Linked DNA regions of Homo sapiens: region 2 is linked to region 1. The links are contacts of gene promoters, found by promoter capture Hi-C in human tissues and cell types (Jung and others, 2019). All regions are on one chromosome and are shown on one strand. The core of a region is centred on a gene start or on the middle of the fragment in contact, and the rest is flanking DNA. Distances in the headings are between cores, read along the strand shown.

Region 1 (6,455 bases), core at 2,294-4,793:
CCAAACTTCTCAAAGTAAAGGACCAGCTCCTGCACCACTTTCTTAGGGTTGGCTTCCCAGACTATCCCAGGGCTTTTTGAGGTGCTATAGCCTCTATAAATATCATTAACAAAAAGTGGGTACAGCACCATGTGTCACGGCTCATGCCTGTAATCCCAATACTTTGGGAGGATGAGGCAGGAGAACTGCTTGAACTCATGAGTTCAAGAATAGCCTGGTCAACCCAGCAAAAAGGTGGTGTGCACCTGTAATCCCAGCTACCCTGGAGGCTGAGGCAGAGAATCCCTTGAGCCCAAGAGTCTGAGGTTACAGTGCACTATGATTGCACCACTGCACTCCAGCCTGGGTGACACAGCTCTGGAGTCAGACTGTCTGAGCTCATGGCCCGACACCCCACACTGCTTGCTGGTGACAGTGGGTAAGTTATGTATGTCCTTGGTGCCTCATATTTTTCATCTGGACTGTGAACATTAACATCCTCTACCTTTTGGGGTTATTGGGAGGATTAAATGAGCTACTGTATGTAAAGTTTAGAACAGTCCTGGGCACAAGGTAAGCAATAACAGTTTATATTATTTATTGAGAGTCTGTCATGCCAGGCGCTAGGCTGAGAACTTTACAGTGTTGTCTCATTAAATCCTCATTTACCACCATGAGACAGGGGTGACTGTTCCCACTCTGCACATTCCACATGGGAAAGTAATCTGCCTGAGTTCACACAGCTAGGGTGGGCACAGCTGGCTGCCGGACACTGCAGGAAAACCCCTGTGGGGCTCCTCTGCCTGACTCACTCTGGATGAGGTCGGGCCCGATGGTGGACTCGATGATCTTGTCGATGGCCGAGCCCAGGTCCGAGGAGGAAGCTGTGCAGTCGGACACCAGCATGTTGGGGTCTGGGAGTGCACTAGAGTGCACAAGTGCTGGGGGACCGCCTGTCACCCCTGCCACTGGCCCATGAGACACAGACGATGAATCAGGGAGGTAGCTATTAGGCAGGGGGTCTGCGCTCGAGCTGCTCTCAGATACCTCCTCCTGAGGGGCATGAAACAGGGAGGGAAAAAGTTTAGCAGCTGGGTATGGGGCAGGGCAGCCTGCCAGCTCCCACTTGCTAGACAGAGCTCTCAGGCCCAAGGACATGGTCAGTGGAGCCACTCATGCCCTCAGCCCCACGGAGGACCAGTGAGAGAGGCCCTCCAGTCACAGAGTCCCCCAGGAAAAAGTCACAGGGTCCCTGGATCTCATCAGGGAATACACAAAAATAAGAGAAGGGACTCCTAAGCCACAGCCAGGGGGAGCTATTTTCTTTGGGCTTTTGCATAAATCGTTCCCTCTGCCTGAAACTCTTCCCAGCATCACCCTATGGCTAAATCTTACCCAGCCTTCTCACCACCATTTAGCTGGTACCTCTTCTAGGAAGTCAATGCTGGCTTTGAGGCCAAGTCAGGACTTCTTCATCCTCAGTGCTGCAGCTGCCTGTGTCCCCAGCACCACACCACTGTGGGGTTCATTGTGCCTTTTAACAGCCTCCATGCCAGACTGTGCCCTCCACAAGGGCCTGGACCAAACTTGTCTTTTCCTCTGCTGTATTTCCAGGGCCCAGCACACGCTGAGCACATGGTAGGCCCCCATCTCTGCTGAACTAATGAAACCCCAGGACCCCAAAGTGATGACCACTGCTGTGTACTTCTATCACGTGATATACTGAATATGACCATTATCTTGCATATAAGAATGGCTAATACTTACTGAGTGCTTACAATGTGCTGAGCACTGTTTTAATTATTAGCTTTGCATATGTTAATTCATTTCATCCTCACAAAAACTCTATGAGGCAGGTATATTTACCATTCCCACTTTACAGACGAGGAAACAGAGCTAGATGTTGGGTAGCTTGCTCAAGATCACACGGCTAGGAAGTGGCACAGCCAGGAGGAGATGGTTTACAAAATGTTTGCAAGAGGATGTCTGGTGGGAGCTCACAATCAAGCACCCTTGAAAGCAAGTATTTCTGCTTTACTTTAGCCGGGATACTGAGGCTCAAAGAGGTCTCCCAGTAAACTGGAGGCAGGACCCAGTCTTAACCCAGGGCACTTGCGTTTTTTTTTTTTTTTTTGTAGAGATGAGGTCTCGCTATTTGCCCAAGCTGGTCTCCAACTCCTGGGCTCAAGTGATCCTCCCACCTCAGCCTTCCAAAGTGCTGGGATTACAGGCGATGAGCTACCACTCCTGGCCTAGACATCTGCCTCTCAAAGTGTGAGGACTGTGGGTAGTATAGTAGCTAAGACCACAGCCTAGATTTGAATCCTGGCTCTGTCTGCACTCTGTACCTCGGCATCCTTTTCTATAAGATGTGGGAAAAAATGGTATGTGTCTTAGAAGGTATGAAGCTCAAATGAGAAAATCCATTTTAGGGGTTTGGCTTGGTGCCTGGCTCACAGTAAACCAGAAACACCAAGTATTAGCTACAAACAAGCCTTGTTTCCTCTTGGCTGTCAGGCACTGCTGCTCGCGGTCCTTGCCTCCACCCACGCCGTCCAGCCGGGTCCATACCTGAGAACGGCTGCCGCGGTCCGAGCTTTGCCCCACGCCAGAGTCATCGGCCTCTGCCTGCCCCGGGGCGGCCGCGGCGTCGCTGCTGTCGGCGGACACGGCTTCTGAGGTGCCCACACCCAGGCCGCTCTCAGAGGGCTCCTCGGGCCGGCCAGGCCCAGGGGCCGCGTCGCTGCTGCTCTCCACCTCGTTCTCCTCCATCTGATCGGCGGGCTGCCTGACAGCGGGGCGTAGGGTCTGGGAACTTCACTCTGAGAAGAGAGGTGACCGTGGCTGGAACAAGTGGGCCATCTCCCCAGCCCCGGCAACCACGGCCACCCATTTGCACCCCTGCGCCCATTTTGCAGATGCGAAGATTGAGTCTCCGACGGGGCGGAGCTTCCTGGTGTATTGCGAGGGGAGCTCGGGAAAAACTTGACGGAGAAGCTGTGCTTCCCAGGCTAAGGCCCTTCCCGGGAGGGTGGTCAATGGCTGGTAATCTTGACCCTTTCCCTCGCCCCCACGATTCTCGTGGAGCGTTCCGCTCTGTGAGCCCCATCCGGGCCCAGTGGTTCAGCCCTTCGGCCCCCGCGTCCCCCCGGGTTGCAGGGCCGGTGGTACAGCCCGCTGGCCCCCTGGGTCAGTGGTTCGCTCCCCCCCGGTTCCCCTGCGGAGGCGGCTGACAGCGACGGTCTCGGGGCCTGGCGATTTGGGGCTGTCCCCGGCGCTGCCTGTGCTCCAGGCCCGACGCCATCTTGTGGTGGCGCCGGGTTTCCGCTCAGGCAAGTGCGAGAGCGACTAAAGGGCCTGGGACCCCGGGGCCCTGTTCGGACAGCCCCGCCGGCCTGGGACCTCGCCTCCGGGTATCCCCGCAGTGTGACCTCACTCCACGGCAGGGTACGGTGGGGCCGCCTAACTCTACCCGAAGCTCACCCGAGGCTTTCGTAGCCACGTTCCTCTCTGACTCCGGCATCGACGAGGTCGCCATCCTCTTTCCTCCGCTGCGGAGGAACCCATCGGCCTATTGTAGGCCGGAACTACTTCCCCCGCTGGCCCCGGGAAAGACACATTTTCAGTGTTCCGGAAGGTCGCTCCGAGGCCTCAAAACCATAATCGGGTCTCAACAGACTCTGGGACTTTATACGTCGCCCGGTGTTTGGCACTGAGCCCACTATGGTTTGGGGACTACTTTATCTCGGCGGAGTGTTACGTAGGAAGTGGTTGTGACGTCATTCTGGTCCCTTCCCTAGGCCGCAGGGTTGGGCGCGGCGAATGCGCGCCCCGCTCTCTTGGGGCGTGGCTCCCAGTGGGGGGCGTGGCTCCCGGTGGCTTGGCCGCGCCCCTCCTACAACAGCCCGGAAGAGCGTGTGGCCGCGGGCGACTTTGGCTTGGCCAAAGAGGAATTCATGTTGTCAGTCATTTTACCTGACTCATTACTTATTACTTAGCGCGCTGCTGCAACCCAATCGAGCTCTGCCCGTTAGGTTTGATGTGTTTTGTTGGGAAGGGAATGTATAATTATTGTACAGATAGGGAAACTGAGGTCTGGGTATGGGAAGGGCTGGTCCAAAATCACATCCAATAAAGGGACTCAGGAGCTAAGTACGGATGGCAGGAGTCGGGGAAATGGAAAGAAGTTAATGCTTGTCCCTTAGGTTTGTATACATATTTGTTAACATTAATAGAGCTGAGGCCGGGCGCTGTGAGTCACGCCTGTAATTCCAACACTTTGGGACGCCAAGGCAGGAGAATCGCTTGATCCCAGGAGTTCCAAACCAGCCTGGGCAAAAGAGCGAGACCCCATCTCTACAAAAAAAAGAAAAAAAAGAAAAATTAGCCAGGCATGGTGGCGCGTGCCTATAATCCCAGTTGCTCGGGAGGCTGAGGTGGGAGGATCGCTTGAGTCTGGGAGGTTGAGGCTGCAGCGAACCGTGATCACACCACTGCACTTCAGCCTGGGCGACAGAGCGAGACCCTCTTTCAAAAAATAAATAAATACAAGTCAACTACCTATCCTTTAAAAGTGGAGAAAGAAAAAAAATTTTAATTAAAAGTCAGCTGCCCTTAAGGTATGTCCTTCCTCCGGAAATGTCACCTTCTGTTTTAAGACTTTTAGCAGTTTGCAGTGGAAGAGCACAAGAGGGAGTAAGGCGCTCTGGTTTTTGTCCCTAAGTCTCTGTAGTTCCATAGGCTATTTTCCTTAATTGAAAGATACAAATTTTGGGGGAAAAAAATCTCAAAAAAACTCCTAAGCAGGCTGGGCGCGGTGGCTCACGCCTGTAATCTCAGCACTTTGGGAAGCTGAGTCGGGCGGATCACCTGAGGTTGGGAGTTTGAGACCAGCCTGATCAACATGGAGAAACCCCATCTGTACGAAAAATACAAAAGCAGCTGGGCGTGGTGGCGCATGCCGTAATCCCAGCTATTCAGGAGGCTGAGCCAGGACAATAGCTTGAACCCGGGAGGCAGAGGTTGCGGTGAGCCGAGATCACGCCATTGCCTTCCAGCCTGGGGAACAACAGCGGAAACTCTTGTCTCAAACAAACAAACAAAAAGTCCTAAGGAGAAGACCTATTAATAAGGAGAAAAGGTCCGGGCTCGGTGGGTCACACCTGTAATAACCAGCACTTTGGGAGGCTGAGGCCGGTGGATCACTTGAGGTCAGGAGTTCGAGACCAGCCTGGCCAACATGGTGAAACTGTCTCTACTAAAAATACAAAATTTCACTGGGTGTGGTGGCGCGCGCCTGTAGTCCCAGCTACTCGAGAGGCTGAGGCAGGAGAATCGCTTGAAGCCCAGAGGCGGAGGTTGCCGAGATTGTGCCATTGCGACAAGAGAGAAACTCCGCTTCAAAAAATAAATAAATAAATAAAAATAAAAAGGACAAAGGGTGCTTTGAGCTGTTATTTGTGTGCACTTGTGTATGAGGGGATTCATCTGGTCCTTTTCTTAGGTAAAGTTTTCTTTCCTAGGTTTCCCTTTTGGGTTGAGGGAATGGAACAGGAGGCCTCTGGATAGGTTAGGACCCTCATCCCCTATCCCTTGCAACCAGCAGGACCAGGCCCCAGAGCAGCTCTGAAGAGCTAGGTCAGCACTGGCATGATGACATGTTGGTTTTACTATCTCCAGGCAGTTTTCCCGTGTGGACCCCATTCCTCAGCCCTACAGAAGCATCTGCCCCCTCATGCCAGTAGGGTAGTAGGGTGCATCCTACATCTGACCAAGTCACCTCTCCCAAGTTTGGGGTACTCCGAAGTAGCCCCACAGTACCCTCATTCCCTTCCCCACTAAGACTGAAGCCTCCTAGGAGGTAGAGTCTGCAGTGAACTATGAGTGCGCCACTGCACTCTGGCTTTGGTGAGAGAGTGAGACCCTGTCTATTAAAAAGAAAAAAAAAAGACTCAACCTTAATCCTGGCCTTTGCCACAGCATCACAAGATTGCAGAATGTCATGGTACAGATGAAACAGACTCATCATGAAACCGAAGAGGAGCCCAAGGCCCAGAGGGGGAAAGCTAACAGCCCAAGGTCTCGGCTCCTTGGAAACAACATACCAGAACCCTTCCATCACAAAGACAAGCAGGCAAATCCTTGTATTCTGCCTGTGAATCCAGGGTTTGTTCCTCCAGAGAGTGCAGTCTAGTTCTGGTCTCAGCTTTATTTTTTTGTTTTCTCTTTAAAATTTGTTTTATCTTTTAAAAAATTGTTTATAAAGATGGGGACTAGCTATTTTGCCCAGGCTGGTCTCGAACTCCATGGCCCCAGCTTAGAGAGACTTATGGAAGCAGTGAAGGGGCTCTGGGTCAGAGGACATTAAAGTGGACCATTGAGAAAAATGTAGAAGAGCCAAGAGGGAAAGAGGAGGGAAGATGCCAGGCAGTGTGTGTGCTTTCTGAGTCATGTTTTGTTTTTTTTTTTAATTTGCT
Region 2 (6,947 bases), core at 3,742-6,241, 1.0 Mb before region 1:
GTGTCACACTGCTTAGCATACACATGGCTTGGAACACATGGCTCAGTGACCCTGAAAGAATGAAATCAATGGTAGGTGCACTGATTTAAAGAATGAAATCAATGGTAGGTGCACTGATTGAAAGAATGAAATCAATGGCACTGATGCCATCAGGTTCATTAGCACCGCACATTTTCATCCTAGAGAAGAGTGGGGAACACTTACCAGGCTCCCACAAACCAGAGTGAATGCTACCCATGACCAGAGAGGCATTCTCCTGTAGAAGGTGAGTAACTCTTGTCCTCCCCTAACACCTATAGGTCACTTACACATGGCAGGGCTCCATCTCTGATCCCTTCTGCACCTCTAGCCTGAATCCCTAGCTTGCTGGGCTGGGACCATTCCCCTGGAGCATTAAAAGAGCTTCCTAGTGCCTGACAAATGGCCTCTTCATTTCATACAGTTGAGGTGAGGAATCTCCTGTTTTTGGCTGCTTGGATCTCCTTTCTCTTCTTCATGCTTCTCCAGGGATTCACACAGTGTACATGCTCCTGGGAAGCATCACCCTCTAGTTCTGGAGGTGGGGCAGGTGCCTCAGGGTGACCTAATCACAAAATCTCATCCGCCGGTTATGGTGTGTACTTCAGGGAATGGCCTGTGACCATGAAGACCAGAATAGATTGAGAAAATGATTGAGAAAATATGTGAGCTAGAGTTTTTTGGGGGAAAAAAATCCTATCTTTTCCTAGTGAGCTATCAGAGAAAGACTTTCTTTCTCTGGGTCATGAGGCATGGGGTATGGATGTGAGGCCGGGAACTGCTATAGCTATTTTGCTACTAGGAGGGAAGCTTGCCAAAGACAAAGCTGACGCACAACAGAAAATAAAGCTGTGATAAGTACAGAAAAATGGAGTTAGTCTGTTAATATACTGAGCTGCTGGAGCAAACCTTGCCTGAATTCTCTCGGATTTTTCAGTTTTATGAGCCAATAAATTCCCTATACTATGTTTACCATGTTGAGCTTTCTGTTTTTGCAACCAAAAACATCCTAAGTACTACATCCCAAGTGCTACCAGAGGAAAGAGAAGGGAACTCACACTGCATGCCTATGTGCCAGGCTGGGAGTTTTACATGTCTTATGTCATTCAGTCCTCATGGTTGTGAGGAAGACTTTATCATCACCCTCACTATACAGCTGAGAAAACAGTCTCTAAGAGGTGAAGACTTGTATTTTGTTTTATACTTTGTTCCTAAGATTATTTTTATAACTCAGCTAAACAATGCCAATTTTTGCAGGACTACTCTAAAGAAAATGGATAGTGGGAGATTGCAAGACTCTGGGCAGGGAGTCACAGCTCACCTCTGTTCTTTGTAGCTGTGGTTTCTTTGGATTTGCTTTTAGCCATCTCTTTGTGGTTCTCCGAAGGCAAGGAATTCCACCTCTTCTGAGCTGAAACAGGCACCAAGGGGATTGAGGGCAGCTTCAGGCGCCACTCAGGCCCAAGCGAGTCCATGAGAGCTCTGGTCATTCTGGAAAAGAAGGCAGGATTGCAGGGAGGTTTCCAGCTGGGTCAAGAAGATATTTCTCCTTTCACACACCCATGGGAGGTAGGCCTTTTCAGAAGAGCCAGAGCTGCCACCCTCCCCCTGGTCGGAACCACCTCTTTAGCTCCTCCAACACGTGCAATACAGGAACCCATAAACACCATCTCAGATCAGTCCCCATGACATTCCTTGAGCTTGGTCAAACTATGTTACCTTTAAAGTGGTGATCTGTTGCTTGTTAAGGATACTTAAACCATGATCCAAAAAGACTATAGTTTCTCCAAGAAAGAATCATACATTTTGTTTCATATTTTATCAATGAATCAAGTACACAACCATGCAAGCACCTGACATTTGTTTAATGCTCAGGCTTTTTAAAAAATGCAAAGCTTATGTCATTCTCAAATCTTACAACTCCTCAGGGGTTCCCAATTCCCTAGGCTAATGTGGCATGTGAGATCTGGTCCCCACCCCTTCCTGTCCCCCTTCACTGTGAGCCACATTCTCTTCTGATCCTTCTGTTCAAGACTTTGCACATGCTTTTTCCTCTACCCAGAACAACCATTTTCATTTTGGAAAAAGATTGCCACCTTCCAGGCCCGGCTAACTCCAACTTATTCTTTAGATTTCAGCTTAAAATGCCACCCAGAGACCAAGTTCATTCTGTCAACTGATCTCCAGCACCTGGTATGTCACCTAGCAACCACCAAGGCCCAATCAGTTATGTGTTGAATGAGTGAATAATGCTAACTGTATACTTTTTCTGCTCCTACAACCATGTTTCCTATATTACAAGAATAAAAACCACAGACTGTATCACTACAAATTCCAAGATGTCTCTGGCTAGGCTGTTTTCCTGGCGGCCAAGCTATTTCAAACCTCTGCTCTCCTCAAACCTGTTCCCTGGCCCTTCCCCTTTTTTAGAGCAAACTTCCTCATACCCCAAATACAAACCTACCTGCCTGGGTGCCCAATCCTTCCTATTTCTCTCCTGTCACAACAGAAGAGACAATGGGACCAATCCACCCACCTAAGCTCTGGATCCCATCTCCTCTTGCCTCTTTCAGGGACCACACCCAGGCAGCACCTCCCTCTCCCACATCTTCATCCTTCCTCTCTACTAACTCCAACCGTCAGCATTTAAGTCCCTTTAACTCTTTCCTCACCTAATAAAACCATACTGGACACCCCTTGCCATCACAGGTATACTCCCCAGCTTCTCTTCAAGCCTGACTTTCTGAAAGCATTGCCCTCTGGCTCCTGATCCCACTGACCAGCTTCCATCAGAGCCACCGGTGACTTCATTGCCAAACCTTTAATGTAAGCTCCTTGGAACACCTGACACTAATGATGTCTCCATCTTTCTTGAAATACTCCTTCCCTTGGGACATCAATGCCCTGTTTCCTCCCACCTCTCTAGCTGCTGTTCCTCTGTAAGTCCCTCAAATGCTGGAGTTTCTCAAAGCTCCATCCTCTTCACACTAGCTGTGATGTTCTTTTTCTTTCTCACAGCCCTAATCCACCTCTGCGCTGATGACCCTCAAATCCTTATGTCTGGCCTGTATTTTCTTCCTTTGTTCCATGTAAATACCCAACCGTCCTACTTAGATCTCTAGTCTTATGTCCCACAGTCACCTCCGACTGAATGTCAATAATCTGAGTGTCTTCTTCTATTCCTCCCTTCTCGATACCCCGCAACCACTAAAGCTTGTTGATATACTTCCTACATGTCCCCTGACTGGTCCCATTGTTTTCTCTCCACCCTCTCCCCTGGATTGCTGCATGACTCCTTTCTATTCTGTTGCCCTTCATATCATCCCTCAACATGGCAGCAAAGAGCTTTTCTCTAAAATACAAATCTGCTCATGTTGCTCCACTGCTAAAGACCTTTTCATAAAGGCTGACTTGCTCAGGATTAAGTCCAAGCCCTGAACCCTGGGTCTTGTGTGACTTGGCCTCACCAACCTGTCCCAAGCTGAGCTCCTGCCTGCAGCACCATGTGAAACCGACTTCTTACAATTCCTGTGATCTGTCACACTTGCTCACCTTTGCACACGCTGCTCTGTCTTCTGGCTAACCCCCTACCCCATATCTCTCATTCTTAGCTCACCTCCTCTGAAAAGCTCTCTCTGGCCTCCCCCTCTCCCTCTCAGCTAGCTAGGTGGCTCCTTTCTGGCCTCAGAGCCCCCTGTGCTGCCTCCTACCATGGCGCTTATCATGTTGTATTGTGCTTGCCTATTACTGACTGGTGTCTTCCTTGAGACCGGGACCTCTATGACGGCAGGAAGAGGTATGTCTCAGTCATCAGCCCAGGTCCTAGAGCAAAGTCTGTCACATAATTGGTAGATTTTGTGGAATCAGATAAGTTAAAAAGGAGGCAAAGAGAAAACAAAGAATGCTGGCAGACAAGTCAAGCCAGAAATAAAGCACTAAATACATACCATGAAGTCCCTGTTAAGGGTTTGCTATTAGTGCAGTGTTTGGCTTTCTAGCCGCACACGCAGAGGGGAAACATGATCAGTTATACAAATGACAATATCCATGAGATAAAAGCCAATAACTGCTCAGAGACCAGAAAGGAATTGCACCTGGGGAACCTCTTGGATTGGTCACAGTGCAATATACTGAACCATGTCCACAAACCATATCCTTTTAGGCTTGTCATAGCTGCTTGGGCTTGTGTCTTATTCTTCTAATTAGCGTTAGCGCTTTGAAGGTAAGTGGGGTCTGTATCTCTTTCTCATTTTGGTATCCCCCACTGAACCGGGCACAACACCTTAAACAGTGTACAATAAATATTACTGTGTACATAGATACTGTGAGGCACATGTAGGCAAATATCAATCAATCAATCTTAGTAATTGACTCCCTGAAAACCTGCTAAATAAAAAAGCAGATTTTCCTTTCTCAGCTTCCCCTACATGCCCATCGGGAGTTTTTTAAGTGTAGCCAAAGGGATCCCCTCAGAAGACAGACAAGGCAATGGCCCGCAGCCAATCAAGAAGGACAGGGAGTTGCCGTGGAGACCACCTGCTGGGAATGGAGCTCACCTGTTGATGCCTTCTACGGCTGACGTCACATTATCATCAATCTGCAGCACAGTCTTATAGTCAACATAGGCCATAGGGTACTTCTCCAGAGCCTCATAAGCAGATGCTCGCCGCAGCAGGGGCTTAATGCTGAAGGGAACCAAGGCCAGTGCTCTAGAATAGGAGGCAAAAATGTCAACTGGCTGGCTGCTGAGCCACCAGGGTTTCCCTACAGTTTCTTCCAGGCAGGGTTATCTGGAGCACTCAGCGTACAGGAAGTAATTTCTGGCCGAGAGACATGGCTAAAAACGCCAAACCTCAGAACAGGGATTTTTCAACGTAGACTGAAGTGAGGAGGAGAAAGAAGGCAGAGAAACATGAATTTTGTTAAATGTGTGTGCACATGCATCAATTTTCATAGTTTCAGTTCCCCCAAAATCAAGAACAAAAGCCTCATGGCTTTCATGCTACTATGTTTTTTTACAGTTGTGGTCTAGTGGGAATAACAAACAAGCTTTGGAGTCAGATGGGGTGGTGTCTGAATTCCACCTCTGCTGCTAACTATGTGACCCAGGTAAATCACTTTACTGCCCCAACCCTCAGCAACCAAGTTCTGGCCTGGGACACATGGTAACCGTACCCCACAGATTGGTTGTGAACACTCAAAGAGGGAAATCTGGCACAAGGCATGGCACAAATTAATTCAGCACAGGCTCTGTGAGTATGCTCACACCCCTCCTGCTCTCCTGGCTATCACCAGGGCAGGAATCTAAAGCAATGTCAGAGGACATCAGATCTGAGAACACATTTCAGGTAAATGTGAGAGTTTAATGATGATAAAAGAATATTAGACTGGCTTGAAGAAAAAGAGATATGAAACATTGTTCAGTGTCCTCTAAAACTGGTCATTCATGAATACCATTTTTTTCCTTTCTCCTTCTGAGACAATCTATTAACCTCTATTCCTCCTTCTTTCCTTCGCTCCCTTCCCCTCACATACTCCCATCCCAGAAAAGCACCTGGGCAAGCCAGTTACTGGTCTGCCACTCCACCTTATTCCCAGGTTTCAAATTGCACAAAGACTTTACGGCCTGCTTCTAACTGCCCATCCCACTCCTTTTTCGGCAGCAGAGCCAAGACTCCAAAGATGCAAGTCACGGGCCATAAGGACCAAATAAAGACTCCCATTCTCAGTGACCTGGTGAAACTCAGTGACACTTTCTTAATATCTGTCCCAGATGTAATTGATGGGATCCTTCCAAAGAAGAAACAAGCCAGATTAACCCAGCCTCCTCTTCTGAGACCCTCAGGCATCCCAAAATTACCCTTGGCCACTTACGAAGTGCAATCTTTGATGCAGTCTCTGCAGTTTCCATCCTTCAAGTGACATGCTGCTCGGTTGGAGTAGAGAACACTTTCTTCTTCTGGGTCTGAAGAACCTGCCCAGATAGAGTGGGGAAGATGATCAGTTTGGAAAATGGGTGCCTCAGGGCATTAGGATACATTTCAAACTCAGAGCTCTTTGGGCCTTGTGTTAAGGCAGTAGAGATAACTATAACCTGTTCAGGCTTGTTGGTCTGCTGGGCTGGCGTGTTTGTCATTCTTATGTGACAGAAGGACACTGCGCTTTTTGCCATTCAAAGGGAACCAAGTATTTCCTCATTCACTCATTCCAGCACTGAACTTGATAACAGACAAAAGATAAACAAGAAATAGCTAGCTTCTGCCTCAAAGAAATCCATGCTGTAACTACTTGGGTTTGGGTGGATAAATGGATGGATAGGTGTGTATTTTATTACAAAAAGCATTTAAATCCAAGAAAGAAAGAAAAAAAAAAAAAGAAAAGAAAGGGAGGGAGGGAGGGAACAAGATGATAAACGTATGATAAATGGATTGACCAAAAGTTGTAGGGGCACAAAACACCCATGAAAGACATGAGACTAGTTTTACCTGGTCAAGCCAGGGAGGACTTTGTCAGGGAAATGATAATTGAGCTGGGTGTGATGGGAGTACAGAGAACTTAATCAGGAAAAAGTCTTAAGCTACCCCATGGGGAGAATTATTAGACATTCTTCTAAGGCAGTCCTTACCCTCAGGAATCGCAGAGGCTCAAGTCCTTCACTGTGGCCACCATGATCTTTATTTACGTATTTTTTTTTGAGACAGAGTCCTGCTCTGTTGCCCAGCCTGGAGTGCAGTGGAGCGATCTCCGCTCACTGCAACTCCACCTCCTGGGTTCAAGCAATTCTCCTGCCTCAGCCTCAGCCTCCTGAGTAGCTGGGATTACAGGCACTCGCCACCACGCCTGGTAGAGACAGGGTTTCACTATGTTGGCCAAGCTGGTCTTGAACTCCTGACCTCAGGCAATCCGCCTGCCTCGGCCTCCCAAAGTAC

The links. Contacts are between HindIII fragments. The study calls those that stand out against the background at their distance.
Region 2: a fragment that was not itself captured here is called in contact with the fragment with the promoter of ZNF335 in region 1 in 1 of the 25 tissues and cell types used here (spleen).

The regions. Positions count from the first base shown.
Region 1 is chr20:45,968,660-45,975,114 of GRCh38, forward strand. ZNF335 (zinc finger protein 335) reads right to left here and starts at 3,544. Exons shown (of 28, transcript NM_022095.4): 1 at 3,463-3,544; 2 at 2,551-2,801; 3 at 792-1,032. The coding sequence starts at 2,751. RefSeq lists a silencer at 3,056-3,175 and an enhancer at 3,946-4,165. The HindIII fragment of the contact is 24,986 bases long and covers 1-6,455 here.
Region 2 is chr20:44,950,494-44,957,440 of GRCh38, forward strand. TOMM34 (translocase of outer mitochondrial membrane 34) reads right to left here. Exons shown (of 7, transcript NM_006809.5): 2 at 5,893-5,992; 3 at 4,575-4,727; 4 at 1,340-1,509. LOC124904912 (a long non-coding RNA gene) reads left to right here and starts at 4,723. Exons shown (of 2, transcript XR_007067599.1): 1 at 4,723-5,127. The HindIII fragment of the contact is 7,243 bases long and covers 1,371-6,947 here.